Linked DNA regions of Homo sapiens: regions 1, 3, 4, 5, 6 and 7 are each linked to region 2. The links are contacts of gene promoters, found by promoter capture Hi-C in blood cells and fetal thymus (Javierre and others, 2016). All regions are on one chromosome and are shown on one strand. Each heading gives the region's core, a stretch centred on a gene start or on the middle of the fragment in contact. The rest is flanking DNA. Distances are from core to core; before and after follow the strand shown.

Evidence for each region. Contacts are between HindIII fragments. The CHiCAGO score rates a contact against its expected background, and 5 or more counts as called.
Region 1: a fragment that was not itself captured here is called in contact with the fragment with the promoter of BCL6 in region 2 in 4 of 17 cell types (M2 macrophages, M1 macrophages, M0 macrophages and 1 more); the score reaches 9.8 in M2 macrophages.
Region 3: a contact is called between a fragment that was not itself captured here and the fragment with the promoter of BCL6 in region 2, in 2 of 17 cell types (naive CD8 T cells and naive B cells). The highest score is 5.5, in naive CD8 T cells.
Region 4: a fragment that was not itself captured here is called in contact with the fragment with the promoter of BCL6 in region 2 in 6 of 17 cell types (M1 macrophages, monocytes, total B cells and 3 more); the score reaches 13.6 in M1 macrophages.
Region 5: a contact is called between a fragment that was not itself captured here and the fragment with the promoter of BCL6 in region 2, in 1 of 17 cell types (activated CD4 T cells). The highest score is 5.1, in activated CD4 T cells.
Region 6: a fragment that was not itself captured here is called in contact with the fragment with the promoter of BCL6 in region 2 in 1 of 17 cell types (total B cells); the score reaches 5.9 in total B cells.
Region 7: a fragment that was not itself captured here is called in contact with the fragment with the promoter of BCL6 in region 2 in 3 of 17 cell types (M1 macrophages, M2 macrophages and activated CD4 T cells); the score reaches 8.4 in M1 macrophages.

Annotation. Positions count from the first base shown.
Region 1 is chr3:188,273,458-188,277,538 of GRCh38, forward strand. All of the region lies in intron 2 of LPP (LIM domain containing preferred translocation partner in lipoma), which reads left to right. Among named protein-coding and RNA genes, the nearest start is that of FLJ42393, 97 kb to the left of the region's middle. The HindIII fragment of the contact is 1,820 bases long and covers 1,516-3,335 here.
Region 2 is chr3:187,743,228-187,747,176 of GRCh38, forward strand. BCL6 (BCL6 transcription repressor) reads right to left here and starts at 2,241. Exons shown (of 10, transcript NM_001706.5): 1 at 2,183-2,241. It overlaps BCL6-AS1 (BCL6 antisense RNA 1), which reads left to right and starts at 442. Exons shown (of 2, transcript NR_173091.1): 1 at 442-817; 2 at 2,017-2,799. RefSeq lists an enhancer at 1,354-1,879. The HindIII fragment of the contact is 3,720 bases long and covers 1-3,133 here.
Region 3 is chr3:188,364,911-188,369,059 of GRCh38, forward strand. The region is part of intron 3 of LPP (LIM domain containing preferred translocation partner in lipoma); the gene reads left to right. Among named protein-coding and RNA genes, the nearest start is that of FLJ42393, 190 kb to the left of the region's middle. The HindIII fragment of the contact is 6,150 bases long and covers 1-4,149 here.
Region 4 is chr3:188,430,896-188,434,623 of GRCh38, forward strand. All of the region lies in intron 4 of LPP (LIM domain containing preferred translocation partner in lipoma), which reads left to right. Among named protein-coding and RNA genes, the nearest start is that of LPP-AS1, 140 kb to the right of the region's middle. The HindIII fragment of the contact is 4,911 bases long and covers 1-3,728 here.
Region 5 is chr3:188,322,972-188,327,188 of GRCh38, forward strand. The region is part of intron 2 of LPP (LIM domain containing preferred translocation partner in lipoma); the gene reads left to right. Among named protein-coding and RNA genes, the nearest start is that of FLJ42393, 150 kb to the left of the region's middle. The HindIII fragment of the contact is 794 bases long and covers 2,393-3,186 here.
Region 6 is chr3:188,448,518-188,452,259 of GRCh38, forward strand. All of the region lies in intron 4 of LPP (LIM domain containing preferred translocation partner in lipoma), which reads left to right. Among named protein-coding and RNA genes, the nearest start is that of LPP-AS1, 120 kb to the right of the region's middle. The HindIII fragment of the contact is 6,076 bases long and covers 1-3,742 here.
Region 7 is chr3:188,297,892-188,302,122 of GRCh38, forward strand. The region is part of intron 2 of LPP (LIM domain containing preferred translocation partner in lipoma); the gene reads left to right. Among named protein-coding and RNA genes, the nearest start is that of FLJ42393, 120 kb to the left of the region's middle. The HindIII fragment of the contact is 3,963 bases long and covers 998-4,231 here.

The DNA.
Region 1 (4,081 bases), core at 1,176-3,675, 530 kb after region 2:
GCTATAAAATACTTTAAAATTCATGTAGAATCCTCTCTCAATCTTACCCCCCTTTCATTTTTCAGTGTGTTCTCTGATACTTTTGTACTTTTGCCAGGTGATAAGTCCACCTTGACTTGGCTATTTTATATCTTTTTTTTTTTTTTTTTTTTTTTGAGACGGAGTTTCACTCTTGTTGCCCAGGCTGGAGTTCAATGGCACGATCTCGGCTTACTGCAACCTCCACCTCCTGGGTTCAAGCGATTCTCGTGCCTCAGCCTCCCTAGTAGCTGGGGTTACAGGTGCACGCCACCACACCCAGTTATTTTTTGTATTTTTAGTAGAGATGGGGTTTCACCATGTTGGCCAGACTGGTCTCAAACTCTTGACCTCAGGTGATCCACCTGCCTCGGCCTCCCAAAGTGCTGGATTACAAGTGTGAGCCACCATGTCTGGCCGTCTATTTTATATCTTATAGTAAAGGATGGTTGCCTCAAAGGCTGTAAACGTCAATGTTTAGAGATATATATGAAATTATTTGTAACTTCCTTCAATAGTAACTTTCAAATGCCACCCTTACATGGCTTTATGAAAAGTAAACCCTTCTCTTAAATGTCTGCTTTTTTCTTAGAGTAAGTTTCTTGTGTTGGCTTTCTTTTCTCTCTTCTCTTTATCAGTGAATTCATTTATTCTAAATTTTTTTCTGATGTAGTTTGGGACTTCCTAACTTAACAATGGAAATTGAAAATTGGAGAAGCTCATTCTGTATTCTTTCCTTTTTATTCCATTTTTGATACTGGATTATGTCTGTATAATTGCTCAAATTGTGAGTCATGTAGGAACATGCTCTGTGTTTCTGCACATGATATTTAAAACCTATTTATGCTTTCTTAACCACAAAGGGGACCATAAAAGTCCTGTCAAATAGTCCCAGACTGTAAATTCCTTGAGGTCAAGAGCTGTGTCAAATTTATTTTTGTACCTCTTTCTGCTACAGCTCCCAGCCCCTAGCCCAGTGCCAGGTAGCTCTGGCAAATGAGAGTGGGATTGAATTGGATTTCTCGTTCTGACCACTCTCTTGGTGCCTTTATCAACTTGTCCACCCCATTGGGAGGAGGGGCATGGACCTGTCAAGTGTGATGAATTGGTAGATCATGGAGTTTTCCATCCTCCACTAGAACTTTAGCTGTGTTTAGACTTCAGAATGCTGAGTAACTAATAAAAAACGATTCCAAAGCACTCTGCAGATAGAAAGTGCTTCATGTGTAATAAATAATAATAGCCTCTTAAGATTAGGCACAGCCACACAAAGAAGTGCCAGTCTTGCAGGCCGCAAGAATTCCTGATAGACCTTATGGTTAGAGTGGATTGGTTGAGACTGACCCTTGTCACTGTTTTGTAATAAGCAGTTTCACCTCCAAGTTACCACGTATTTTCCATTATGGGAAAAGGGTAGTTTCTGAACTATCTAGGAATTAATCCTTCCAATTATCGTTAGGAGTCTGACTGAAGGAACACCATGAAAATTGACAGTCAAGCTTTCTAGGTAAGCCTAATTCAGTGCTTAAATTTAGTTCTAAATCCTGTCCCCTTCTCCAACTGTTATTTCTTTAAAGGAATCAGCAGTCACCTCTATTTTAGTTCTACAGCATGTGGTGGTCTTAAGAGGTGGAAACTGGCACCTTTTCCCAAAGGAGAGACTGGAATGGCCAGAGCCCATCCTGACTTTGGGTCATCACTTTCAGATTAAAACATAACTGTACAGAGTACATTTCCCTTGATTCTCTGTTTCCACAGAGAGGCTTTTCTGCTTTAGGGTTTCATTGATGGGATGACTTCTTTTCCTTTGTCCTAGAGTGCGGGTCAATCTAATTCAAGTTTGGTGAATAAATGGAGCCATAAACTGTGTTACCCACTTTATTTATTTATTTATTTACAAATGAGGTCTCCCCTCCCTCTGTTGCCCAGCCTGGAGTACAGTGGTGTGATCATAGCTCATCTCAGCCTGGAACTCCTGGGCTCAAGCAATTCTGCCGTATCAGTCCCCTGAGTAGCTGGGACGGTGGGTGTGCACCACTGTGCCTGGCTCTCCACCTTATTAAAGTGAGTTAAGAGAAGCATAAACAGTGTTTTGCTATTCTTCTTGGTAACTTTAAATGATGCTTTCTTCTCAGCAATGATGGTCCAGTCTAACTGGGCATCATTCATTTAGCTATTATTTATTGAGCACCTGCTGTATTCCAGGAACTTTTTTTTTCTTTGAAACGGAGTCTCTGTTGCCCAGACTGGAGTGCAATGGCACCATCTCGGCTCACTGCAACCTCCACTTCCCAGGTTCAAGCGATTCTCCTGCCTCAGCCTCCTGAGTAGCTGGGATTACAGGCACGTGCCACCACACCTGGCTAATTTTTTTGTTTTTAGTAGACATGGGGTTTCACCATATTGTCCAGGCTGATCTCGAACTCCTGACCCCGTGATCCTCCTGCCTCAGCCTCCCAAAGTGCTGGGATTACAGGCATGAGGTACCGCGCCCAGCCTCCAGGAACTTTTCTAGGTGCTGCTGGTCAGTGAAGAAAACAAAGCCTGCTGTAGTTACCATTTGAAAGACTGAACAGAAGTGTGACTTTAAAAAATGATTTGGCAAAAGTATGCTTTAAATAAATAAACACAGCAAACAAAAAACACAACAGCTCTTTCATTCTGTCCTTTCCTCTATTCTTTCTCTTGTCTCCCATTTTTGTCCTGTGTGTAACCTGACTCCACACCTTTTATTCTCTCACTCTGCTTATCAACACAGCCATACTTGCTTCTCAGGCTCTTCTGTGTCTCTTTGTTGTGTCTGCTGTGCTTCATCATGTGGCGATGAAGTAGATGAAGGTTGTTGGTGGCCGGACCCCAACTTCGTATTCCTTCTTAGCTAGTTCCTTGATTGATCTCCAGACATGGAGTGGCAGGTAGGTGCTCTTGTTGTAAGTCACAGAACCTGGAGGAAAGAGTGGTTCGTGGCCCTGGGGCCTCTGGGGGCTGATGCTTGGATATTTGTTTAGATATTTGTTTGGATATTTGTCCCCGTCCAAATCTCATGTTGAATTCTAATCCTCAGTGCTGGAGGTGGAGTCTGGTGGGAGGTGTTGGGGCGGATCCCTCATGACTTGGTGATGTCTTTGTGATAGTGAATTCTTGTGAAATCTTGTCATTTAAAAGTGTGTGGCACCCCCCACCCTCCAACTCTGTCTCTCTCTCTCTCTCTCTCTCTCTTTCTCTCTCTCTCTCTCTCTCTCTCTCTCTGTCTGTCCTCCTCTCCTGCTGTTGCCATGTGAAGTGCCTGCTCCCTTTTGACTTCTGCCACGTTGGGAAGCTTCCTGAGCCTCCACAGAAGGAGATGCTGCTATGTTTCCTCTATAGCCTGTAGAACTGTGAGCCAATAATTCAACAACTCAACCACTTCTTTTCTTTTCTTTTTTTTTTTTTTTTTTTTTTTTTGGAGAGACAGGTCTTACTCTGATGCCCAGGCTGGAGTATAGTGGCATGATCTTAGCTGACTGCAACCTCTGCTTCCTGGGTTCAAGTGATTCTCCTGCCTCAGGCTCCTGAGTGGCTGGACTTATAGGCACGTACCACCATGCTCAGCTAATTTTTGCATTTTTAGTAGAGATGGGGTTTTGCCCCTTTGGCCAGGCTGGTCTCGAACTCCTGACCTCAAGTGATCCACCCGCCTCCACCTCACAACGTGCTGGGATTACAGGCATGAGCCACCTCACCTGGCCAACCTCTTTTCTTTTAAATTACCCAATCTCGGGTATTTCTTTATAGCAGGGCAAGAATGGTTTAATACAGGGGCCCATCCAGCAGCACTGCATTACCAGGATTCTGCTGAAGAAATGGACGTGGCCCCAAAAGCCATAGCCTGGCTGCCAGGTGCCCCAGAGTATTGTCAACTCAGAGGAACATCTCTCAGGAAATATTCCTTGATTCTCTCTTCTCTATTAGTTTTTTAAATGCTTCTATCCCAGAGGAGGTGCTCAGTAAATTTTAGTTTCTTTCCTTTTCCGGAAAGTCTCATGACTCTTTATCTGAGTTTGACTTAAGAGAACTTACTTAA
Region 2 (3,949 bases), core at 991-3,490:
TTAAAAAAAGAAGAGAAAAAGTAAAGCGTTACAAGACTTTCCTCCTGGAAACTATAAACTGAAAAAAAAATCCATAAAAGATTAAATCCTGGCGGGTTGTGGGGTGGCGGGGGCCGGCGGGGAGGGGGCGCGGAGTGGAGATTGGCTCTCTGAGGTGGTCAGGGGCCCTGTGACAGCTTGGGACTTTCAGCACCTGGTTTGGGGTCATTTATCTGCTCAACTGTCAGGACCCCCCACCCCCAAACCCCAGCCACCAACACAACCATCGTAGAAGGGAACACAACACAGAGGGTCTTTTTTCATTTTTTTAAAAAATCGGTTTGGTTGTGTTTTTGTTTTCCATGGGGGAGCTTTAAAACTCATTATTGCAACACTAGTTCCATTTTTCGCCAGGGTTCCAATAACACGGCATCATAAAGGCAACGCAACCCACAGTTCTCAAGACATTTACCACGGTCACTACATCCGGCAGCGGGGTGGCCCCTAGCTCCTGCTGCCCCCCCGCCCTTTCTCCCCGCCCGCCCCCGGAGCTCAGCCGATTTCTGAGGCTCCAACTCTACCCACTCCCTCCCCGGGCCGCCGCCGCCGCGCCTTCCCCCATTCTTACTCCCTCGAGGAGAGCCACAGGTTGCAAATCCAACCAACCTCGCAATCTATTTTTGCAAAATCACTCACAAAGATCTCCCTTTCGCGCCCGCGCCCGCTCCTCCCGCGCCGGGTCCCCTCAGCCACGGCCACAAAGTGCCCTTCTCTCCTCCTGAGTCTTGCACATAAGGAACGCGGGCTGGGGCTCTGTTCGTCTTTCTCCTCGCCCAAGGTAAGGACCTCGGGAATCTGAAGCCTGGCGTCCACTACGCTCAGGCCCGCAGTTCCCTTTTTACAGAGCTTGCACCATGGGAAAAAATAAAATAAAATTTAGGAAAGGGAGGCAACAGCCATTGGGAGCCAACACAGAGTCACGCAGCGCCCAAAATACAAACACCGCAGCGGCCAGAAATCCCGCCACCTTTCTCGTTCTCCCAGGCTGTCCTGTCGAGGTTCCCTGAGTCCCCCCGCACACTGAAAGGCATCGCAGGTGCAGTGCGCACCCCTTTCCCACCCACCCCAAGAAGCCCTGTCCCGCCATCAGTCTCTCTCCTCGGGATGAGCAGGGAGAGCGCGCGGAGGTTCCCGACTCCCTCGACTACAACCAAGAAAGAATAATTTTCAAAGTGTTCAACATCCCCGCCCCCAAGCTCCCCAAAACACAGGGGCAGGGAACACCAAAACACTCGGCTCTCATTAGGAAGATCACGGCTCTGAAAGGAAATAGTAGACACGATACTTCATCTCATCTGGATTTATGACCAAAAAAACAAAAACAAAAACCCAAAGAGTTCGCTTGCATTTTTTCCTTCCAAATCTCGGTTCGGCTCGAAGGCAGGGAATCTAAAAGACCGAGGCCGATGGAAGAGAGCCAGCGGGGCGAGCGAGCGGGCAGCCTCCCTTTTTGCCTCCCGGAGTTACCCAGAAGGACAGGGGAAGGGAAGGAAGAAGAGGCGAGGAAAAAGAGGAGGGAGGGAAGCGGAGGCCAGGAGCGACGGAGCAAGGAAAGCAGTTTGCAAGCGAGAAAAGAGGGAAAAAACACAGCCGCACGAATCCAGAGAGATCACAAGCCGTACGCAAGCAGCAGCAGAAAGAGCGAGAGCGCGAGCGCGCGTCCTCTCCGCGGTCTGGGGCCAGACAGCCCCCAGACTAGCCCGAATCACCCCCCAAGCACTGTCTCGTCCTCTCTGCTCCGGCCGCCCCCTAATTCCCCTCCTTCCTCTCCTCCACCTCCTTTCCAAAAACCAAAACAACACAAGGGAGGGTGGCAAAAGCCTCCCCAAACCGGCCGATTCACTCAAAGACAACAATAATAATAATAAATACATAACAATCTATATCCTATGGTGGGAGAGACGTGGGACTAATCTTCGGCATTTATTTTAACACCTGACAGCTAGAATAAATAAATATATACATTTATATCAATAGATACACATAGAAAACTTGGAGCCAAAGCATTTGGCAAGAGCGGAAAAAAAAAGAATTAAAAGGTAAAATAATGATCATGAGCAGCGGCGGCGGCAGCGGCACCAGCGGCAACAGCGGCGGCGGCGGCAGTAGCAGCAGCAGCGGCGGCAGCAACAGCAATAATCACCTGGTGTCCGGCCTTTCCTAGAAACTTCTTGCATCACCACTTCTAAGAACCCCAGTTCTAAGAATCAACAGAGCTCAATTCTCGGAATTTGAGCTTCGGACTTTACCACTGCTACGTGGCAGGGGAGGACTTGGTGTCAGCTCTCCGAGATTTTTACTGCCCCTGGCCAACCAAAAGCCCTCAAAGCCACAAGATTTTTTCACTGGCCGGCATATTTCGAGGTCCTCATAAGCAGAGCGTCTCGGATTTGGAGGTTCCGGTTCGAGGCTCGAGGGGCCTGAAGGTGGCTCTCCCTCCCCGGGCCCAAGACGATGGTATGGCCTGCTCCGCCACCATCACGTGGGCTCCTCCTCTGTGACGTCGGCGCCTTCGCTGTAGCAAAGCTCGGCCTCTGGAATTCTGAGAACTAATTTGCTATTCGGTGACATAAGAGGGGGAGTGCGCTTTGCTTTCCCGGGGTCTGGGGCTAATTCCTTCTTTCTTACCCATAAACTCAGCAGATCGAGCTAAATGCACAAAAGGGAGCGAGAGGTTTGAACCACTGGGAAAAGTATGTTATATATATAGTAGGGTTAGAGAGGCGAGTAAGAGAAAAATAAAATAAAATAAACATCACAGCTCTTTCCAACTAGAATATTAGGCACCACGAGAAAAATATTTGCCAAGCAGTTTTCGGTGGGTTCATTTGCTTTATTTTTATTTAGGACAGGGGTTTTTGCTGTTGTTCTGGGTTTTTTTCTTTCTGGTGTGGTGGCTTGGGATTTTTGGTTTCTGTATTTTGATGGTTTATGGATTTTTGCTTCTGATTTTTTGCCTTTTGCAAGTTTGTGGTGTTACGTAAATCACAGGATCGGCATCGGTTGGATTTTTTTGTACGTGCCTTTTCTTTCCCTATCTAATCCCTCAAGCGTTTTAAAGATGTATTATTTCAATACTAATACTATTGAAAGAAGCTTAAATTTTTGGCCATATGTAACAATCCCAGCCCCCACTTTTTTTTTTTTTTTTTCCTTTGGTGCAATTTTCTTTTTCCCCCTTGGACTTTTGCTGAAGTGTGTCTCTCCTGCACTTCAGAGAAATGTTCAAAGGATTTGTTTTGGTTTGGTTTGTTTCTTTCCAGGACAGCAAGTGGTGGGTTTAATCTGTTATTGTTGACTCTTGGGAAATTTCTTGTTGCAAGAAACGTGTGTGTGGGGGGGAGGGTGGGGGTGGCGGGGTGGTATGTGTGTGTTTTCTACAAAATTCTGTGAGCCAAATACCTGTTTGTGTTTTGTTTTCTCTTAAGGTCTTGAGATTTTTGTTTTCGAGGCTCGTTTCAAGGTCGTTGTAAAAAAATCTCTTCAGTCTGTGTTTAAGAGATCAGCCGGAGGGAATTCTAAAGGCCTGCCGTGCCAGTATCACAGATACTGCCTGTATTTAGAACAGACTGCCACAACTACAATGCACTACACGCAGCACAGTCTTCTTAGCTTTGAAGCTGAGTTGGGGGGTGGGGTGGGGGGGGGGTAGAGAAGAAGGAGAAATTCTTTCCTTCTCTTTTTCTCTATTACTTTCTTTTTAAAGGCAATTGCAGTGCAGAATCATTTCATTGTGGGTCCTAGTTTGTTTGTTCAGAGCTGCTAGTTTCCTTATTTAAATGTTGGTTCGGGTTTTTTCCCCTCCTACTCATCCCTGAATAAGGGAGACTCTTGTTTCTTTTATGTCTCTCTCTTAAAAGAAGGGTGTGAGGGGAAAATAATATTTCAGATTCCTCAAGAATTAGCCCAA
Region 3 (4,149 bases), core at 122-2,621, 620 kb after region 2:
TCTAATAAATGTATTTCAAAGGGGGCTTTCTTCTTTTGTCTGAGTGAGAGGCAGGAATAGGAATGACAGAGGCAGCAAGTGTTGGATGTCTGTAGAAGAATCATAGAGTTCTCTTTAGAGCACTAAACAGAGGGCTAATAAAGGGCTATTGAGTCCTCCTTATGTTTTTTTCCTCTCTCAGATGAGTTTTAAGGGTAATAGAAGCGCTTTTTTTTTTTTTTCTGGTGACCTCTTAATCTTACTTTTCTCTCTTTATCTCTTCCTTTTCCTAGAAGCTAATATTAAAACCACTCTTGTCCTCTGCCATTAAAAATAAATCTGGGTAGGTTTCAGCAAGAGAGTATTTCCTAGAATGCATTATATTCTGGGCAGTAGAAGTGTATGTTTAAATACTTTTCCTGTAGAAGGTCATTATGACAACAGAGGATGCCACCAGCAACCCTGCAGTATGTGGTGAATGTGTTTCCACGCTGTGTCTGTCTCGCCTCTGCTCTCTGCCATGTCAAGCTGATTTTAAGTTTACCGTCACTTTTAGTATGTGACTTGATGAGGCACCATAATGTGTGTGTTGCTGGCCAAACATTACATGTCATGACTGTAGAATCATGAGACTGGAGTTTTAGCCTAGACCTTAGAACACGTACCTGCAAGAGGTAGTTATTCGAGCAGCAGTCTTTGTGAGACTGGAATTCAGGCACAGGGAACACTTGTTCCTAAGTTGCTGCCCCGTTGCTCAAAACATCTTGGTAATGTCTTTCTTTCTTTCTTTTCTTCTTCTTTTTTTTTTTTTTTACTCTGTTGAATGTTATCTTTTATTTTGTTTTTATTAAAAAATCAATTTCCAGCTTTATCAGGATATAATTGACGAAACAAAAGTTATGTATAGTTAAGGTATACAACATATTTTGAGGTACATTGCATTGTGAAATGATTACCCTAGTCAAGCTAATTAACATAGGCATCACCTCACAGTTACCTTTCTGTGTATGTGGTGAGAACGTTTAAGATTTACTCTATTAGCAAATTTCAAGTGTACAATACAGTATTAACTACAGCCACCGCACTGTGTATTAAATCTCCAGAATTATTCATTTGGTATCACTGGATCTCCCTTTGACCAAGAACCAAGATCTCCTCATTCCCCTGGTCCCGGTAGCCATCATTTTGCTCTGCTTCTATGTGTTTGACTTTTTTAATTTGCACATATCAGTGAGGTCACGCAGTGTTTGTTTTTCTGTGCCTGGCTTAGTTCCTTAAGCAACATTTCCTCCAGATTCATCCATCTTCTCGTAAATGACAGGATTTCCTTCTTTGTTAAGGCTGAATAACATTCCACGTGGTAATACACCGCATTTTCTTTATTCACTCTTCAAATGATGGACATTTAGATCGATTCCACATCCTGGCTATTGTGAATAACGCAGCAGTGAACATGGGAGTGCAGGTGTCTCCTTGAGACACTGATTTTGCCTTAGAGGGGATTCTGGGGCTGGGCTCCGTGGTGAAGGGCACTCTCTTTCCCTCACCTGGAGGTTATGTCAGCGGTGTGCTGGGGGTTGTACAGGTCATGTTAAGCTGTCCTTCCTGCCTTCCTCAATGCGTCATTTCTTATTTCTATGTTCCACCCAGGTGCTGCACTCTCGCCTGAATTCCTTAACGTGTGTGAGGTATTTTGGTGTGTGGCTAGTTGTTTAGAAGTTTCTGAGAGGGAATGAGTGCTGGAAACTCTATTTTGTCATTTGCCAATGTAACCCCACATTGGAATTGTCTTCAGAGATAATGAAGAGCCACTGCTAAAATCACAGACTCATGAGATGTGAAAGCGGGGAATCTGTTTAGCTCACATGCGTGTGAGAAAGCTGAGACCCTGAGACAAATATTGGCCTGTGCTGCAGGCTTTCAGTTAGACAGGGACAGCATCAGTTCTCATTCCCTTGTTAGCTCTATGCCTGATGTCTTCTCACTGTTTTGCTGCATTATAAAGAATTGATTTTTTTTTTTTTTGAGACAGAGTCTCGCTCTGTCGCCCAGGCTGGAGTGCAGTGGTGCGATCTCGCCTCACTGCAAGCTCCGCCTCCTGGGTTCAAGTCATTCTCCTGCCTCAGCCTCCCGAATAGGTGGGACTACAGGCACCCGCCACCATGCCCGGCTAATTTTTTGTATTTTTAGTAGAGACGGGGTTTCACCATGTTAGCCAGGATGGTCTCGATCTCCTGACCTCATGATCCACCCACCTTGGCCTCCCAAAGTGCTGGGATTACAGGCGTGAGCCACTGCACCTGGCCAGAAAGTTGATTCTTAGTTAAGCCTATGAATAGTTAGAAAAAAAAAAGAGAAGAGAGAAAGTTCCCCTTAGCATGGCCTATTATCACAGGGTATGTTTGTAGCAGAGGGAGAACCCAGTCCTTATAGAGTGGGTTATGGCTTCTTCTACATTCCAAGAAAATCTCAAGAAGTAGAAATCACTCTGAGTGTCAAATATTTTAGTTGCCTATTGTCACATCTATTATAAAATAGATCTGGTATAGATAAAAATAGAGTTAAACATACTAGTTAATAGATATATCTGGTGTGGATAAAAATAGAATTTAGCATACTAGTTAATATATAAATATGATGTCGATAAAAATAGAGTTAAATGTACAAGTTCCTAATTGGATTGTAGAACTTAACATTCAGGAGTAAGGATGCTGTCAAGTCTAAAGCTATGCCCTTATCCTAGTCAGTTGTTATATTCATGGCAGCCTTTTCTAAAATGTGCTCCATGAAATACTAGATTCATAAATGGTCAAATCACTGTGGGACTCTTGCTATTATTTCCACCCATTGTGGAGATTCTTGATGCATCCCCAACAAGTTTAACTCTGAGAAGTCGAACAGGCAAAAGCAATAAGCACAACTTTCTTTTCTCTTATGTTAGATTCAGGTTTTGTCCAATTTATTTTATAATGGAACCATTTTGTGGATGATTTCCCAGACTTGTGTTCTGTGGAACATTCTTTGGATAGCATGACTTTATTGTTAAAATTCTTAAGGTTCACATCTGTCATCTTATAATAATCTTGTGTGAAATATAAAGTCATTTGGGCTAAACTGTAGACCTCCATCTGCCCTCCCTTCCCCACAGGAGAAATTACAGGTTTATTTAAGGATCAAACAGTTTTGAAATGAAATGTTGTTAGGAGGGGGAAATAAAAACCTTTCAGAGCTTAATAATTGTAGAAAGAAGACAGTGTTATACCGGCCAAACCAATTTTGTGAATTAGCACTTTAACTCAGAGAGTTGTTCCTGAAAATAGCTTGTTTTTAAGCAAAACTTTGTTGGCTTCTGGTGGTACACTTTTTCACCATCAAAGGCACAAATATGGGTGATTTTAAACTGTGGCATACTTTTTTTGCATTCAAAACCAGGGCTTGTGGAAGAAACAACACCCTTTTTTAACTTTTCAGAAACAGTTGGCTTGACCATCATGGCTTTTTTTTTTTCCCCTATGTCTTTAGGATATTAGCTTTTCGTTAAGCTGGAAGGGTCCTCAGAGATCTTGTCCAAGCCCACCCTTGACAGATGAAGAAATAGAGGGCCAGAAGGCTTTAGTAATCTTTCCAAGTCTTTTTATTAGTTACTGACAAAATCAGAACTAAAGTCAAGGTCTCTTACTTACCTGTCATTTACCTGTTCAATGCCTCTTTTGTTTGTACACTCTGTTAAAAAGAAAGAGGTTAACTGTTTCTTTTGGTTATAACTGTTATACTACAAACACACACACACTCTCACACACACACACACACACACACACACACACACACACAGAGAGAGAGAGAGAGAGAGAGAGAGAGAACAGATGAAAGCCATGATTAGGAACATTTTATGCTCAAGGTGAGAAGACCCTCTATAGGACCTCGAATGTCTTCTTTTCTAAAGAACTTCATCTACCTCGGGTCAGTCCTTTGATACTATTCACTTTGAAAACTGGTTTACCTGAAAGGAAGAGGTGTGTGTGAAAGAGAGGGTCACCCGCCACATTTTATCTCTCTGTCTTATTTCAGGCAGACAGATTCACTACATCAAGATGGTGTTTACAGTTATCGCCATGAGATGAACTAGCTCATCTCCAAGTGCTTAAGGGATATTGCCTGGTTATAAATCAT
Region 4 (3,728 bases), core at 370-2,869, 690 kb after region 2:
ATTGAATTATTACATAATTAACTTTTTTTTTCTTTAGGATTTCTTGGCTCTCAAATACTTTTACTCTTTTTAGAGTGCTACAGCCACAGTTTTCTTAAATATAGGGATTTTTGAGGTATCATATTTTGCTAATGGTAAGTTTATAGTATTCCTAAGCAGCTTATCTCATACAGTTTTCTCTATATTGAATATGATTCAGATGAAAATTAACCTGCGTGAAATGGTTGTCATCTGGAATGACTGCCTTTTACCCTAGAAAACAGCCAGCCCAAGGTTGAGAACACATCTGAGAAACTGTGCCTATTTTGAGAACTACCAAGAAATTTTTATTCACTGGAACAGCTGCCAGGAAACTTGTTGGTCATAGACCAGTGCCTTAGTTGGGCATTTTTTTCAGAAGTAGAGAAAGGCAAAGCTAGAGTCACCGAGGGATTGGAAGGATGAAAGACGTGTAGTTGAAAGCTGGGCACCATGGAAGACCGAAACACTCTTCAAACATTCTGTTTTCAAGAATAAACCCAACCCTAGGAGCACGAGACAGAGTATAAAGAGCCATGATTTTTAGCGAAGACCTCGCATTTATCTTAAAATTTGATTTTGTTGTGAATATAATCTCAGAATTATGCAGGGATGGTCCATCAAAAAGGTCTGCCAGAGTCAAGCTGAGTTTATCTTAGCCATGCTGAAAAGTAGGTGGCAGTCAATCAAAATGGCAATTACTGTACAAGACAAGAGTTCACTGGAGGGAAGGGTGAATGGAAAGGACACTCCCTGCATTCTTGAGGCCTATGTAAATCAACAAATGACTCTGGGTTAGTTTCCACAATTGTAAAACAATGTGATTGAACAATATTGTTTCTTCACTTCCTTCCTGCTCTAAGATTGTACAAAAGTATGATTCAACTACAGATATTGCATAAAATTGGTTACTCCTGAAGTGCATGGAGTAAAATTGTTCCCATAGAATATCGTGAATTTAGTTAGGTTGTGACATGGGTCATAGTCTCCGCAGTCTGTACGCCCTCAGTATATTCCTCTGACAACCCCATGTCCTTTCATTCTAAGCTAATATCCTTACACATCTTTTTCTCTACACCTGAGCAAAATATACATTCATGTTCTTAAGTGCATGTAGTTAAGAGGAAGCTAACACTTAATTTGTTCCTGCTGTATGCCGGGTATCTGGTATGTCATCTTCATAGCATTATTTGAAGTTTGGTACTAATATTTCCATTTTTCAAGTGATGAAATTAAGGCTCAGAGAGATAGTAAGTTGCCCAAGGCATCATGACTTACAAAGAATGGATCTTAGATTTGAACACAAATATCTCTAAATCCAAACTTCATGATTTTTCTACTGTATTTCATTTGCTCACTTCCAAAGTCTATACAAAAATATTTGTTAAATGTGCATGTACTGAGCTACCGATATCTACTATATCTGTGTATACAGCGATAGCTATCAAAAGGAGAGACGTCCTCTAAATCTTTGATAAAAGTATGTCAAAATGGAACCCTCCCAGAAGGACTTCATTTTTAATAGAAATCAGAGTATTAGCTGAAGGCACGAAGTTCTAAGATAAAAATGTAGCTATGAATCAGGGTGGATTCAGAGAGGTCTTTGTGTGTATGCTATAGGTGATCATGTGTGAATTTGACCTACGGCAAGAAGAATTTTTTTTTTTTTTAAAGCTCTTCCAGGTTATCCTTGTGTTGGGGAGGAGGATAGAATAAAGAAATGAATGTCTTGCTGGTTCTTCCAAGTTGTATGAGGATAATATCACCCAGGGATGATATGCTAGATAAAGACCCAGGATCTTTATTACTTTTTGACATTTAGTTTTGTTGTTGTTGCTTAAATTTCTAGTCTGTTTTGATGGCATTAGAACCTTTAAAAGGAGCTTGTAACCTTTTCTTTTTACTTTTCCTGAAATGTGTGGATGGGAGGATTGGACAAGAGCCTCAAGGGATGGGAAGAAGAGCTCAGTGCGAACACACATGCATTTATTCATTTAGCAAACATCCATTAAGTGCCTAGGACCTTTAAGGTATTCTGCCAAGAGCTGTGCAGGATAGGAATGAACAAGGGATGACCTTTGCTTTGGCTATGTACACCAGAAAAACGAGCAGGGGCTGGAGGACTCTTGCCAAGAAGCTATTTAGTGGTTCTCTTAGAGCCTTATCTCTATCTAGGCTGGAGATTAACTCAGAACATTTTTTTAGTCTGTTTACCTCTAAAATGAAAAGAAATATATATTAAGAATAAGGAGGTGGCGTGGAGCTTTCACTGAATGTATTTCAACTGGAGTATTGAACGTTATAGTGATGGATACAGTTAATCCATCACAACCACCATTTCAAAGGAAAGTGGGGAAATCCTTTGTCCCTGTGTGAAAAATAACTTAGGAAATTTTGGTCTGACAGTTGTGAGAGGGTTAAGAAAGTCAATCATTTTGTAACCAGGCACAGCAATCTTGTATGAACCATGTCAGGATGTTGTCTGCATGCCGTCTTTGCTGATCACAGTAATCGGGTCATAAGAGAAAGGGAAGTAATAGAGTGTCTCTTAGCAACCAACCCCAGGAAAAAGAAAATTACTCAAACCCAGCCATCCAGCCAGAGAAGTAGAAAGAAAAAAATATTCTGATAGTTTGCTGAAAGAGCTCAGGGATGAGAGAGAGAGAAAGAGAGAGAGACAGAAAGTGAGAGAGAGAGAGAGAGAGAGAGAGAGAGGAGAAAGGAGAGAGAGAAGGAGGGAGAGAGAGGAAAGGGAGAAAGAGGAGAAAATAGGAAGGAGAGAGAGAGATGATGGAGAAGAGAGGCCAGAGAGAAAGAGGAAGGTATGGAGAGACAGGAGGGAGAGAGAGAGAGAAGGAAAAGAAGGAAGGAAAAAAGCAGAAAGAAGTAAACAAAAAACTGAAACCTTTTATTTCTTTGTTTTCCTTTCTCTTGGTGTTATCTTTTTTTAAAATTTTTATTTCAGAAAGAGAGAAAGAGGCAAAGAGTGGGTGAGGACAAAAGAAACCCTGTCTCCTAAAACAGGAACTTGATAGTCCACATCGTGAGAGAAAGTGGGGAGGGTGAATGGTAGTATAACTTCATCGTGTCCCATGTTTCTCATGGTTTCCAGTTGCGATCTGGATTACTGTTGAGAAGTAATAGGAAGACGAAGTCTACAGATGCTGTGATTAGTGTTCTAAGACCTGTTTTTGAATTCTCTGCTTGTTAATCGTGTAGCAGTCAGTTCTACAGCTTACTGCAGTCTTTATAGTAATGACTTTCGAACTTTGTTTTTTCTGACATAAATAGTGGTAAGAAACACATAGTACATTGACAAGAGCGTATATATGTACATGTCAATGTAATATATATTGTCAATGTAATATTATGCTAAGTGAAATTTTCATATATAGATATATATATTTTTTCATATATAGGCTCTTTATGTGATGCATACTAATGTTTTCTATTCAATTTCATTACAAAAATTCTTTTGGATACCTGCTGAATTGATTGTATGACCCTAATGAGTTACATTCTTCCATTTGAAAACACCAGTCTAGGATCAGCACTTGCCTTACATTTTGATTTTACTAGAGTGGTGCCAGGCAGCAAGTTCAGTCTTGGTGAAGAGTCTTTGGCCAGCACTGTGATGTTCAGAATAACAGCTATTTAAGCTAAATATTTTCTTGTCATCTGCCAAGTAGATGTATCCTAAGAGTCTGTCC
Region 5 (4,217 bases), core at 1,540-4,039, 580 kb after region 2:
AGAGGTGGGGGAAAAGGGCATTAGAGTGATTGTGTGGTAAAATCCACTCTAATTCTAGCTGTGAGAAAAAGAGCGGTGAAAATGTGGTAAGCAATTGCTTCTAAAAAGCTTGGACTAAAAGCGCTTGATGGATTTGTGCTGGCTTCCCGGTAGACTCATCTCTGTACTGCCCGCACAGCACAATTAATTGTTGTTACTAGAGAAGGAACAAATAAAGAAAAGAGAGAGAGCAGACATAAAAACATCCTTTCATCTTTCTGAAGACAGTCCCCTTTGTCAGATCAGTGGAGCTGTACCTGTGAATCACCTTGGGAAAGCACAGTGTGGGTAACTAGAAGGAAGGTCTTGTGGCTCATTTTGTACCCACTTCCTGGGCTGGGGAAATATCTAAACTAACCTTTCTTACTTGTCAATATCTACTACCGTTCACCATGCATCTTCACAGATGAGGGCCTCTTTCTCACATCTTCACTCCAAACACATTACTGTGTAGACAGCCACTTATTTTCTGGGAAGAAAACTTTGCAAAGCAGTAGCAGAATAAAGTCGAGGGTAAACAGAGGCCATGGAAAAGCACTAGAGTTTGAGTGCAGAGACATGAGTCTGAGCATGAGCAGTGAATAGCTCATGAAACACTCAAGTTGCATTCTCCTTATGTGGAAATAAAATAAGTCATGGTTGTTCTATGCACGTGGCACCTGACCTTGGGTCCTTATTGCTATGCTGCTAGAGTCTATGAATCAAGATTTGCCAGTTGTGATCTTGAAATTTAGTCAGATTAAAAGGGAACTCTGACTTTGAGGGTGAATGCCCCAAGTGGGCATCTTATTCTCCTATGGATTCAGCTTGTTAGGCAGAATGGAAGTGGAGGTCATAGATTTTAGGGTTTTCTCCTGGGATTGAATCCAGCTGAAGCAGGAATGATTCTGGGTGAGCTATATAACGTCTCTGAGCATTAGTTTGTCATTTTCTTACATAGGAATAGAGTTATTGCCAGATTTGGAGATAGTACATGTTGCAATGTGGTTGACACAGAATAAGCTTTCAATAAATGATTGGTATTGTTGTTGTTGTCGTTATTATCTATAACTACAATAATTTCCCTAGCCTTATTTTATAGGGATAGGTTGTGGCAACATGAAATGTGACTTGGAAAACTGATTTGCACTAGATAGATAGAAACCATGTTTTTCTATCTATATAATGAACAATGTCATTTAAGAAAGCTTAGAGGCAATTCCACCAGCACCATCTTCTTTTTTATTTCCATTCCTAGATTATTTGCCCTCAAGTCTTTGGTAATTTCTTTTTGCCACATCTCTTGAATGTTTCTTCTTTACTATATTCCATCTATTATTACCATAAGTCCAACGTTCATCACCTCCTGCTCCACTGTTGTTCCTGTCTCCTGGCTCTCCTAGAGCCTTGGTTCTCAAAGTGTCATTCACAGAGCAGCAGCATCACCCGAAATGCGTCATCTCAAGATCTACCAAGACCTCCTGAAGCATGAGGCATGTTCACCCCCGTGTTGTAGGACCTCCATATAACTCATTTAACTACTTCTCCTGCTCAGAGTACATGCTTGGCCAGTGCGTGTTTGTTCTGCCTCCAGAATGTTTTCTGACTCTGATTGCTATCATTACTTCTTTTGAATCTACCTAAATTCAAGTTACCATCCATTGCCATGACTATGGCAATAGTCTCTGAAATTGTCTTCTACTTTTATGGTTTCCCCTTGTGGCCTTTTTCCACACCATCTGGAGAGATCTAAAATTGTTGGTCAGATCATATCACACCCCTCCCCTTAAGCCATACGGTGGCTGCTGTAGTATCTGCAGAAGGTCCCTGACTTATGATGGTTTGACTTACAATTTGTCCACTTCACACTGAGTTTATCTGGGTGTAACCAACCCCATAGAAATCAAGGAGCATCTGTAGAAATGTTTGAAAGGCCCTTTCATGGCCTGCAAAGCCCTGTGAGATGACTCTATGTTCTCTCCTTTTTTTTTCTTTCTTTATTTTTTTTGAGATGGAGTCTCGCTCTTGTCTCCCAGGCTGGAGTGCGATGGTGCGATCTCGGCTCACTGCAGCCTCCACCTTCTGGGTTCAAGCAATTCTCCTGCCTCAGCCTCCCGAGTAGCTGGGATTACAGGCACCAGCCATCACGCTCGGCTAATTTTTGTATTTTTAGTAGAGATGGGTTTTCACCATGTTGGCCAGGCTGGTCTCGAACTCCTGACCTCAGGTGATCCACCCGCCTCGGCCTCCCAAAGTGCTGGAATTACAGGTGTGAGCCACTGCGCCTGGCCTCTCTGCTTTTTTCATACCACTCATCACTTTACACAGTAATCTGTAGACACACTGACCTTCCTTTAGCCCTCTGTATAAGCCAAGCTTTTTCCCACTTGATCTTTCTCTGATTCTGTGCAAAACTGGCTTGGAAGTATCTTTCAAGGCTTAGCTCAAATGTTAAAGCCTTACCTAGCTCTTCCCCATTCTTTAGCTAAAGTAGCACACATACCCCCCTCCCCATCATTCTTCTGTCATTATCTTGCTTTATAGTCTACAAAGCATGTATGGTTCTCTAAAAGAGTGATTACCATGCTTTTGTTTTCTTTATGTACATTGCAAACTGTTTTGGTGAGAAATATTTTAGTAATAATAATAATGGTGAAGATTTAGTGAGTGTTTGCTATAGGCTAGGCACACTGTATGGTAAATTAAATAATTTAATAGATCATTTATTTGGATTATTTCATTCTATTTAGCTGATTATATATTTATATTTTTTGTGTTCCTCTTGTTTTAGGATATCAGCTTCTTGAGAGCAGGGTCCATGTTTGTTGCATCTGTATCTCCGCCTGTAGAAGATTCTCTGGCATAGGGATTTTTGTGCAGGAAGTGTTTATTCAGGAACTGAATGGATCTCAGAAGATTATCATTTGGGAATAGATCTACATGACAAGAAAGAACAAAGAGTCTCTCTCATTCTTTTTCCCAGATATATCCCGGGAGAAAATACCCTCGACTTTTTCTTATCTTTAATCTGAGAAGGAAGCAGTTGTTGGAATCTGATTTAGGATTGGCTCTAGTGGCCCTGTGTGCAGACACAGATCTTGGGATTCATCTGACCATTTGGGGAGAGAGGTTCTTGAGGGGCACCTTGATGATAACGAGTCTTTCTAAAGCTTTAAGTTTGGCGTTTGAGGTGGTTGGAAATACCAGGTCTTCCGACTTTTACGTTCTTTGTGCGCACGCTGGTGATGTGCGTATGTGAACCTTTATTATTATGGACTCAGCCAGCAGTAACCATGGTGAGTAGACCTATCACACAGCATTTTTCTGAGTCAGTTTAAAATGCTGACAATTAAATATACCGTACTCTTTTAAGCAATCCATCAGTCTCTCTTGTTGTCATGGTGACCGGAGTATATTTAGAAATGTGACAAGTACACTGAGTTCAATTGCACTTTTGCCAAAACATAGTTTTGCAGCTAAAATTGAATTTCCTGATTGAAGATCCAAGTGCTGTTAAGGGGGCATGATCGTTTCTATACATTATTCTGGAAGTATAACTTAACGTTATTCTGTTAAATCCACAGTTACGAGTCTTATCAGGTATTGATAGTTAAAGTGGTTGTACTTAAAGTTGATGAAATAAAGTGAAATAAAAGTGACATGATGCTTTTTCTATTGAAAATGAAACTGGGCCTTACTAATATAACTAGTTTAATGATTAGTTTCTTTATATATTTATAAAGACATTGTAGGTATGTACCTGTCTGTTCTTCAGAATTATATTTCTAATTTAAAATTATATATCATGGAGATCCTCCCCTGTTTCCTGCTTGTATTCTATTCTTAGTATTGTGAGGGCATTCTTTTTTCTTTGGGTCTGACCTCTGTTTGATAAGCATTCTTATTTTTCCTCAATCTCAATTCTTCTGGATTTTAAATGAAGTAAAGAGACACAATGAACGTGACTTTTTGCCCAAACAAAGGAAAAACGAAACTCTTCTCTTTATTCAAGAATGTAGATTAAATTCTTACTTTCTTATCATCCTCTGTCCTGTCAACATAGTGCTGAGAATGATGTTGTGTATCAACTCATTTGACCACATAAAGTTTAGGAATTAATGTAGTGGCTGGGTCATGATTACAACACTGATTTCATTCCTGGCCAAAGACTGATTCTTCTGCTCTTGAGGTGAGAAAAG
Region 6 (3,742 bases), core at 127-2,626, 700 kb after region 2:
TCTGAAGTGTGGTAAGTTTATCTAACATTTACTGTAGCAACCAAGGTGGGGCTAAATATGGGGACCAATCAGAAAGACGATCTCTGTCAGTTTTGCCTAGGACGTTCAGTGGGACTTGGGTAGGAGACTGTGGACTAATCTCACCTCTGGAAATTTGTGTGGCCTGTGCTATAACTGAGAGGAACCAAGTAAGCCTGTGTATATGGCAAATGGTAGTCCTCTCCCAAACAACATTTGTAAAGAAAATGCATTTTGCACTATTTCTTAGTGTGTCTGAGGCTTTTTATGTTCATAAAAATCTTAGTGAGTTGTTGAAACGTGCTTTTCTGAAAAACCTTGGAATTTACCTGGTTTAGAATTAGAATCAGAAATGTGTCTTTTTAAACTGTATTCTACCTTCTTAAATCTTTTGCCTTCTGCAGCAACATGGAGCAACTCTGATACTTTTTTCTACTTGAGGGCCTTTCGTAGTCAGAGATTATACTAAGATAGCAAAAAATAGAAAGTGACACACTAGTCAAGGTTGGTTTATTGTGTGGTAGGAAATCCAAAAGACGTTGGAAGCAACAACAATAGCTCTGAGGTCCTTGGAACCAGGAGTTTTGAAACTTTTACTTTACTGCACGTCTGTTGACATGATTCCATGAATATTTCTGCTCTTTCTCCCTTATGTATACCAGATCCACTGGGCTGAGTTAAATATAAGACCCCAAGCATGGTCAATTCTTATTAATAGTCCTTGAAGAGGCTCTCTCTTGTTTTTGATTGACTTTCTTTTTCTTTCTTTTCTTTTCCTCATCCTTTCTCCTTCTTCCATTCTCCCTTCCACCTCACAGAAGCCTAACGGGCTTGGAATAGCACTTATAAATGCATGAATTTTTAGAAATATATACTATTGTTTTCATTTCCACAATAATCATGCCTAACATTTATCAGCCACTTCCCATATGCTAGGCTCTCTTTCAAGTCCTTTAAATGTAATAACTATAATAATCTCACAACAAACTCCATGAGACAGGGACTGTTATCTAGTGTGTTTTATAGATTAGAAAACTGAGACACAAAGAAAGTAACTTTCTAAGCTCACATACCTGGTGAGTCAGTAGCTGAGGCAAGATTTAAAATCAGGCAATCTGACTGTACATCTCACTCTTCGCTACTTTGTCCTTGTGCCTTTAGATCATGGTTCTGTGCTATCGATCTGATCTTATTTCTTACTCTTTTTACTACTGTTGTTGCTCAGCATAGTCTTCCCCCCTCAAAAATAAGTAACATTTATATTGCTATTATTATTATTATTATTTTGAGACAGAGTCTCGTTCTGTCACCCAGGCTGGAGTGCAGTGGCACAATCTCAGCTCACTGCAACCTCTGCCTCCCAGGTTCAAGCAATTCTTCTGCCTCAGCCTCCTGAGTAGCTGGGATTACAGGCGTGCACCACCACGCCTGGCTAATTTTTGTATTTTTAGTAGAGACAGGGTTTTACCATGTTGGTCAGGCTGGTCTTCAGCTCCTGACCTCGTGATCCGCCCACCTCGGACTCCCAAAATGCTGGGATTACAGGTGTGAGCCACCACGCCCAACCTGTATTATGAATTATAATACATAGATAACGTGTAAATATTTAATGTCACATATTATTCGTGTGAGTTAGATTTGTAAATTTGATTAGCGCTGAGACATTGGTATTAGTTTTTTCTACAGATGAGAAAACAATTACATACTTTTACAAATGATACAAATATGTGTGAAATATATTTAATCACATACATGAATAATGCTCAGTGAGCAGGCATAGAATTGTCAGGACCTTTGCAGTATCTCCAATATATACCCTGCCCATAGATTAGGAACTATTGCTGTACTATTGCTCATCAGTTTAAATAATTATGTTAATTCACATTTATCTATATGATCAGCATAATCTTTCAAAAATCGATTTACAGGCCTGGTGCGGTGGCTCACGCCTGTAATCCTAGCACTTTGGGAGGCCGAGGCAGGTGGATCATCTGAGGTCATGAGTTCGAGACCAGCCTGACCAACATGGTGAAACTCCTTCTCTACTAAAAATACAAAAATTAGCTGGGCATGGTGGCAAGCGCCTGTAATCCCAGCTACTTGGGAGGCTGAGGCAGGAGAATTGCTTGAACCTGGGAAGCAGAGGTTGCAGTGAGCCGAGATCACGCCACTGCACTCCAGCTTGGGTGACAAAGTGAGACTCTGTCTCAAAAAAAAAAAAAAAATCTATTTACATTGCAGCTCCTTTAGGAGGTTTACTACTTGTAATACTGTAGAGTCTTCCAGAGTGTGCATCCATTGTATTTCACTGATTGATTTCGTTAGTGATACACCTCAAAGTGAGGTAGTCATATACCTCCAACTCTTGGCTGCCACAAATGTACTGTCGTGAGCATTTTGTATATGTGTTCTTAATGATTGGCAGAAGTTAGCTCAGGATTTGTGGCTGTGGGGAGGGTGCTTGATCATAGTGCATTTTAATATTGAGTTTCACTAGGCTCTGTGTTTTTTGTTTTTTGTTTTTGTTTTTTTTTAAACATAAAGGCTTCACTAGGGTTACTTTCCCCCAGTAAAGCATTAGGATTCTTGTTTTCTTCATGCCATCACCAGCACGGGGTATTGCATGACTTTATATTTTTTGCTAATATGATGGGTATGGAACTACTAGTACCTCCTGGTTTCTGCTTCTTTTCCATACATAGTAAACAGATTCAGTCTCTCAAAATTACTGGGAAGAAAAGTGATTTGTTTCATAAGTGTTAAGTGTCTGTTTCTGGTCATGGCTATCTCTGGGACTGTGGTCATAGAGAGGCATACTGGCTATTCAGCAGGGTTTCTGAGTGGGAAAAAAATCTCTTGAAAATGTGGTGTTGTCAAGGAAGGCCATTTTACTGATGTTACTTCAGGGCCCTTCTTTCATTCCTTCACATTTTTCAATATTTATTGTATGGCAATTGCATTGTAGAAACTTTTCTAGGTACTTGGGAACAAAATTGTGAACAAAATAGACATGTCCTGTGGTTTCTCTGGAACCTTTAGTGTGGTCAAGGGGACAGGCATTAATCAAAATACTCAAGCAAACATTTAATTACAAACTATCATGAGTGCTACAAAGGGAAAGGAGAAGAGCTCTGGTATATAACGGGGTAGATGATCTGTGTGTGCTTACTTGATGCAGGTGTCTTTTGGGGATGCTATAAGACAGAAAATTTAGAGGATAAGGTAAAGCAGTAGGAGGAATATTCAGACAGAGAGAATAATGTGTGCAGAGATCCACAGGCAAGAGGGAATGTGGCATCCTCGAGGGATAGTGAAACCAGAGTTGTTTTGAGGACTTTTATTCATTTATTCAACATATTTTTATGGAGTGCTTACTATGCTCTAGAATATGACAGTGAACAAGACAGAACACTAGGAGATGTTTGAGATGAGGCCGAAAAAATAGGTAAGGGGCTCGCCCTATTGTACACTCATCTCCCTTGGTTTGTTTTTTTGTGTGTTTTCAGAGAGAAACAGCCGTACTTAACAATCTGGTTTCAGATTCTTTTAACCTTCTGTTTGCCTTTCTCTGAAGGTGCTACAGTTTGTTTGACACCCTCTTCAAGAGGGGCCAGTAGAACTAAGGATAAAATTTTTAAGTCTTCCCATCAAGAAATGTGTCGTTAACATTAATTAAGTTTCCTCACTGTTATCAATGAATATCCCTCCGTATCCTTCTCTTTCA
Region 7 (4,231 bases), core at 1,729-4,228, 560 kb after region 2:
TAGAAATGTAGTAGCCATGATGGATTATGTATCTTTGAATTGGGAGCCTATGACAAATTTTCTCCAATGGGAAGTTTCTTCAGAGCCTATCATTGTTTCAACAATAATTAAAGTAATTTACAGAGAATGTGCTCATCTACTTTTACCTACTGTTATCTTTTTTCCAAGTTAATAAACTGAATATATTGTATAGATTGGTTGATAGCCTTCCTGAAATGAACATCCTTTGCAAACCTATCTCTCCAAACCCAAATCCTGCCCAAATTTCCCAATTGTGGTAGCAAGCCCAATGAGCTCCTGATACGATCCTAATAGGATCCTCTTCTCTGGAAATCCTCGACAGATCACACTTCTCTTTTCTTGGGAACAGCTTTCTGTTTCCTTGTCCAGAATGGATGCCGTTCTGTTATCCTGGTCACTCTCTGGGCCCCCTCCCTTTGTCCACCATGAGCACAGGCTACTGGCCACTGATCCTCCTGGGGGCACTAGCCTGGCTACCCCATTGCTTATTTTACCTTTGCTTCTCTTAAATACCATTGTTGGTGATTGCTCCACACAGCAATTGTTCTCACCTAAGTCTGTGGATAAGACTCACTTAGGGAGGTTTTACCAGAATTCAGCTCATCTCCCTAAATGTTTGGGTCTGGACTAGGGCACACACTTCTCGTGAGGCGCTTCTCATGAGTACCCCTTCTCAAACTTTACGGGTATCAATTTACTTATGGCCTGCAGTGCATAAAGTGAAAGCTTTCTGAAAAGACATTTAATCCATCGGTATGAGGATGAAAAAGACACACTCAGGGCATGAAAAGAGTGAGAAGGTCACAAAAAGGGTGTGGTCTCAGCTGGAGAGGAAGCTGAACAATCCTATAAAGGAACAAAAGCTCAGCGTCCTGACCATCTGTTTCTTTCTACCCCAGGCCCATTCCCATCATGAGTATTTATTCTGCCCAGTGTGGGATGGGTTCTGTTCTAGAAGTTTGCATGAGCAGAGGGAAGCTTAGCCCCATGAGGCCAGTCATGAGGCTCCATCTTATTCTATAGGCTTCAGCCTTTTTATGAAGACCTAGCTTCTACTCTTGCCCCAGGCCCTAAGCAGGCCCAGACTTTTCCCATATACACACACTCTCTCTCTAACTTATGTGTCTTACATCTTAATAAGGCAGCAGATTGTATCAGAATCAGTTAACTCTTTATCAAAAAACCCAGAGCAGACAGACGGGTGAACTTGCTCATGGGCTGAGCTAGAAGGGAGGCCACTTTTCCTTCACACAGCCTCGGACTCTCCCTGGGCTTTTTTGTGTGTGCTGCGTGGAGACTGTGTTCTAACATTTCAGTCATATCTTCCTTATTTTAAAACTACAGAATTGATCTTACCAACTTACTGGGGAGCACGTCGTCAGTAAATTCTAATGGAAAAACCTGTCTGATCAATGGGACAGGAAAGCGTCACAGCAATACCGGTGAGTCATTCCAAGACCAGGCACATTTGAGCTGTGTTGCTTCTTCGATGCTGACTATAATTCTCCCTCAGCATTACGTCGTCTTAAGCAGCTTTTGAATCTTCGTCTCTGATTCCCTTTCTAGGTCAGACTGTGTCTTTTTTTAAAATTGTGCCTGGATATCCCCTTAATAGGTTGGACAAGTCCCGTTAGGATAATTGGCTGTATGAATATGCGAAAATAGCAACAGTGAATTTTAAAGTTCTTGAATAGTCTCCCCGTCCCACTGTGAGGTGAGGCATCTGGGGTGGGCTATCTGTTTTTTGATTCTTGGTTCTTGTTTTTAAAAAAATAGGATGTTGGACCTTGGGATGAGAGGGAAGTAAAACAGTTTTGGAACCCTTTTAGAAAGCAAACTAAGACAAAACTCCTTTCTTGAGAAAAATGGATGGACATTGTAAAGAAGACAGTAGGGCACCAGGAAGCCTTGAGCCAGGTCTGCCTGTGTCACATTTCGAGTTATGAGCTTCACCGCTCTGCTGTCTGTCTCTGGAGATCATCATCAAACCCCTTTCTCTGAGTTGTTGAATGGCTCAGATGAGTTAATGCCTATGAAAGTACTCTGTAAACAGAAAAATACCTTCCTATTTGTAATCTCAACAAAGGGACTTTTATCATCCCTAAAACAGAACAGACATTTCTTTTTCAATTATGAAAGTTACATAGACTCTTTTTAAAAAGTTAAATGCACAAAAGTATGATGAAAATTAAAATAACCCTAATGAGTCCATCATCCAGGGACATCATTGTTCTAATTTAAACATTTGGGTAATCTGTTCTCTTTTTTTAAGAAGGGTTGTGTGTGTTTATTTTTTTTCTTTTTTTGTGTGTGTTTGTGTATATCTATGTGTATTTTTATTCTGTTTTCTTTACATAACACTGTATTGTAAACATTCCCAAAATGTAAATTTTAATCATTGCATAATATTGCATTATCTGATATATGCACATGCATTTTGAGATTTTGTGACGAACGATTGTGACTATTGTTTCCATAATTAAGGGTTAGCTGCTTACCAAGAAAGGAACTTACTTTAAAACATGGCAGGCACACTTGGCCATTTTTTTTTTTTTTTTTTTTTGGCAGTAAAGGAATTTGAAGTATCCAGTTTTTTAAATAAATTAATATGTATTGAATTGGAGTTTAGCAGTACTTTTAGTTAAGATCTCAGTTAAGGTAAAAAGGTCAGACCTGTAGAGTTATTAATTTGTAGAAAATTCTGACTACAGCAAAACATATTAGCCCAAGTTCTCTTTATTAATAAAACATTAGTTACAGAAATACTAAAAAATAGATTGGTTGGTCTCCTGAATGTCCTGCGTTAGGTAAGTTGCCTTATGCCATCTGGAAGACTTTTTATTTTCTCTTCATAGAAGGATACAATAGATTTGTTTTGCTCAAAGAGTTCATTTTCTGTTGCTGGGCACATATATAATACTGTAAACACATTTCTGGATATGACGACATAATGATGAAGAGAGACCTTTGAATATTTTCTTAAATGAAGATTGAAGGAGTAGTAAGCTGTGAGAGGAGATTTTTCTACTATTTCAGTCCTAAGATTGATCTTTTTTGTCATGGATTTATCCCTTTGTCTCTATGCATTTCTATGTGTCTGCTCAGCATCTTATCTTCTACATTTGCCCTAGTTCCATCCTTCCTTTTTTCCATGCTTGTTTTTCCATACACCTGCCCATCCACCCTCCTGCCTCTCTATCCAGTCGTCCGTCTAACCATTTCTGGCAATTCTTACCTCCCTGTTTCATGTATATCTCTCCATTTTTACCTGTCATTTATATTTATCTATTTGCCTATCCATATCTACACCTGCTTGTCTGCTCACTGTCTATCTATAAAGTTAATGGAGATGATTTTGATGAAAACTTATGAATTTCTTTATTGCATTTTACACTGTGGGTTACAGGGGCCAAAGGCCATGGGGACCAGAAAGTGGAAATAACCAGAGCTCGGCCATTTTTGTTTCATTTCAAAATCAGGAGGGAAGGTCAGAACTAACCTGATTATCCTTTCTGTGATGCTAATCAGGATGTTCTTAGTATAATGCCTTTTGGAGACTGTTATTTTAAGGAATGTTTTGCTAAGAATCAGTTGCCAGGACATAGAATGAAGAGCTATTGTATAGCTTCAGAGTAGTTCTCTTTTAAGAAGGATATAATAAATTAAAAATAATTTTCTTGAGGTCAGACTAAGGAAAAGTCAAAGATATACAATTGCCATCTCTCCAAATTTATTGATTTTATTTATTTATTATTTATTATTATTATTATTTGAGACAGAGTCTCACTTTGTTACCCAGGCTGGAGTGCAGTGGCACGATCATAATTCACTGCAACCTCAATGTCCTGGAGTCACTGAAGCCTCTCAAGTACCTTGGACTACAGTTGTGTGCCACAATGCCCAGCTAATTTTTTTTGTACTTTTTTTAAAGACAGTATTTTGCCATGTTGCCCAGGCTGGTGTTGAACTCCCGGGCTCAAACTATCTGCTTGCCTTGGCCTCCCAAAGTGCTGGGATTATAAGTGTTAGCCACTGTACCCAGCCCAATTTACTGACTTAAAAAAAAAGAAAAAAAAAACAACAACCCAGAACATATTGTAACATTCTCAGGGAGTTTAGAGACAACATAATGAAGGTATTTTCAAGGTTTGGGGAGCTGCTTGGAACTTGATTTTGGACAAAATGGAAGGAAAACAACCATCCTTTACTG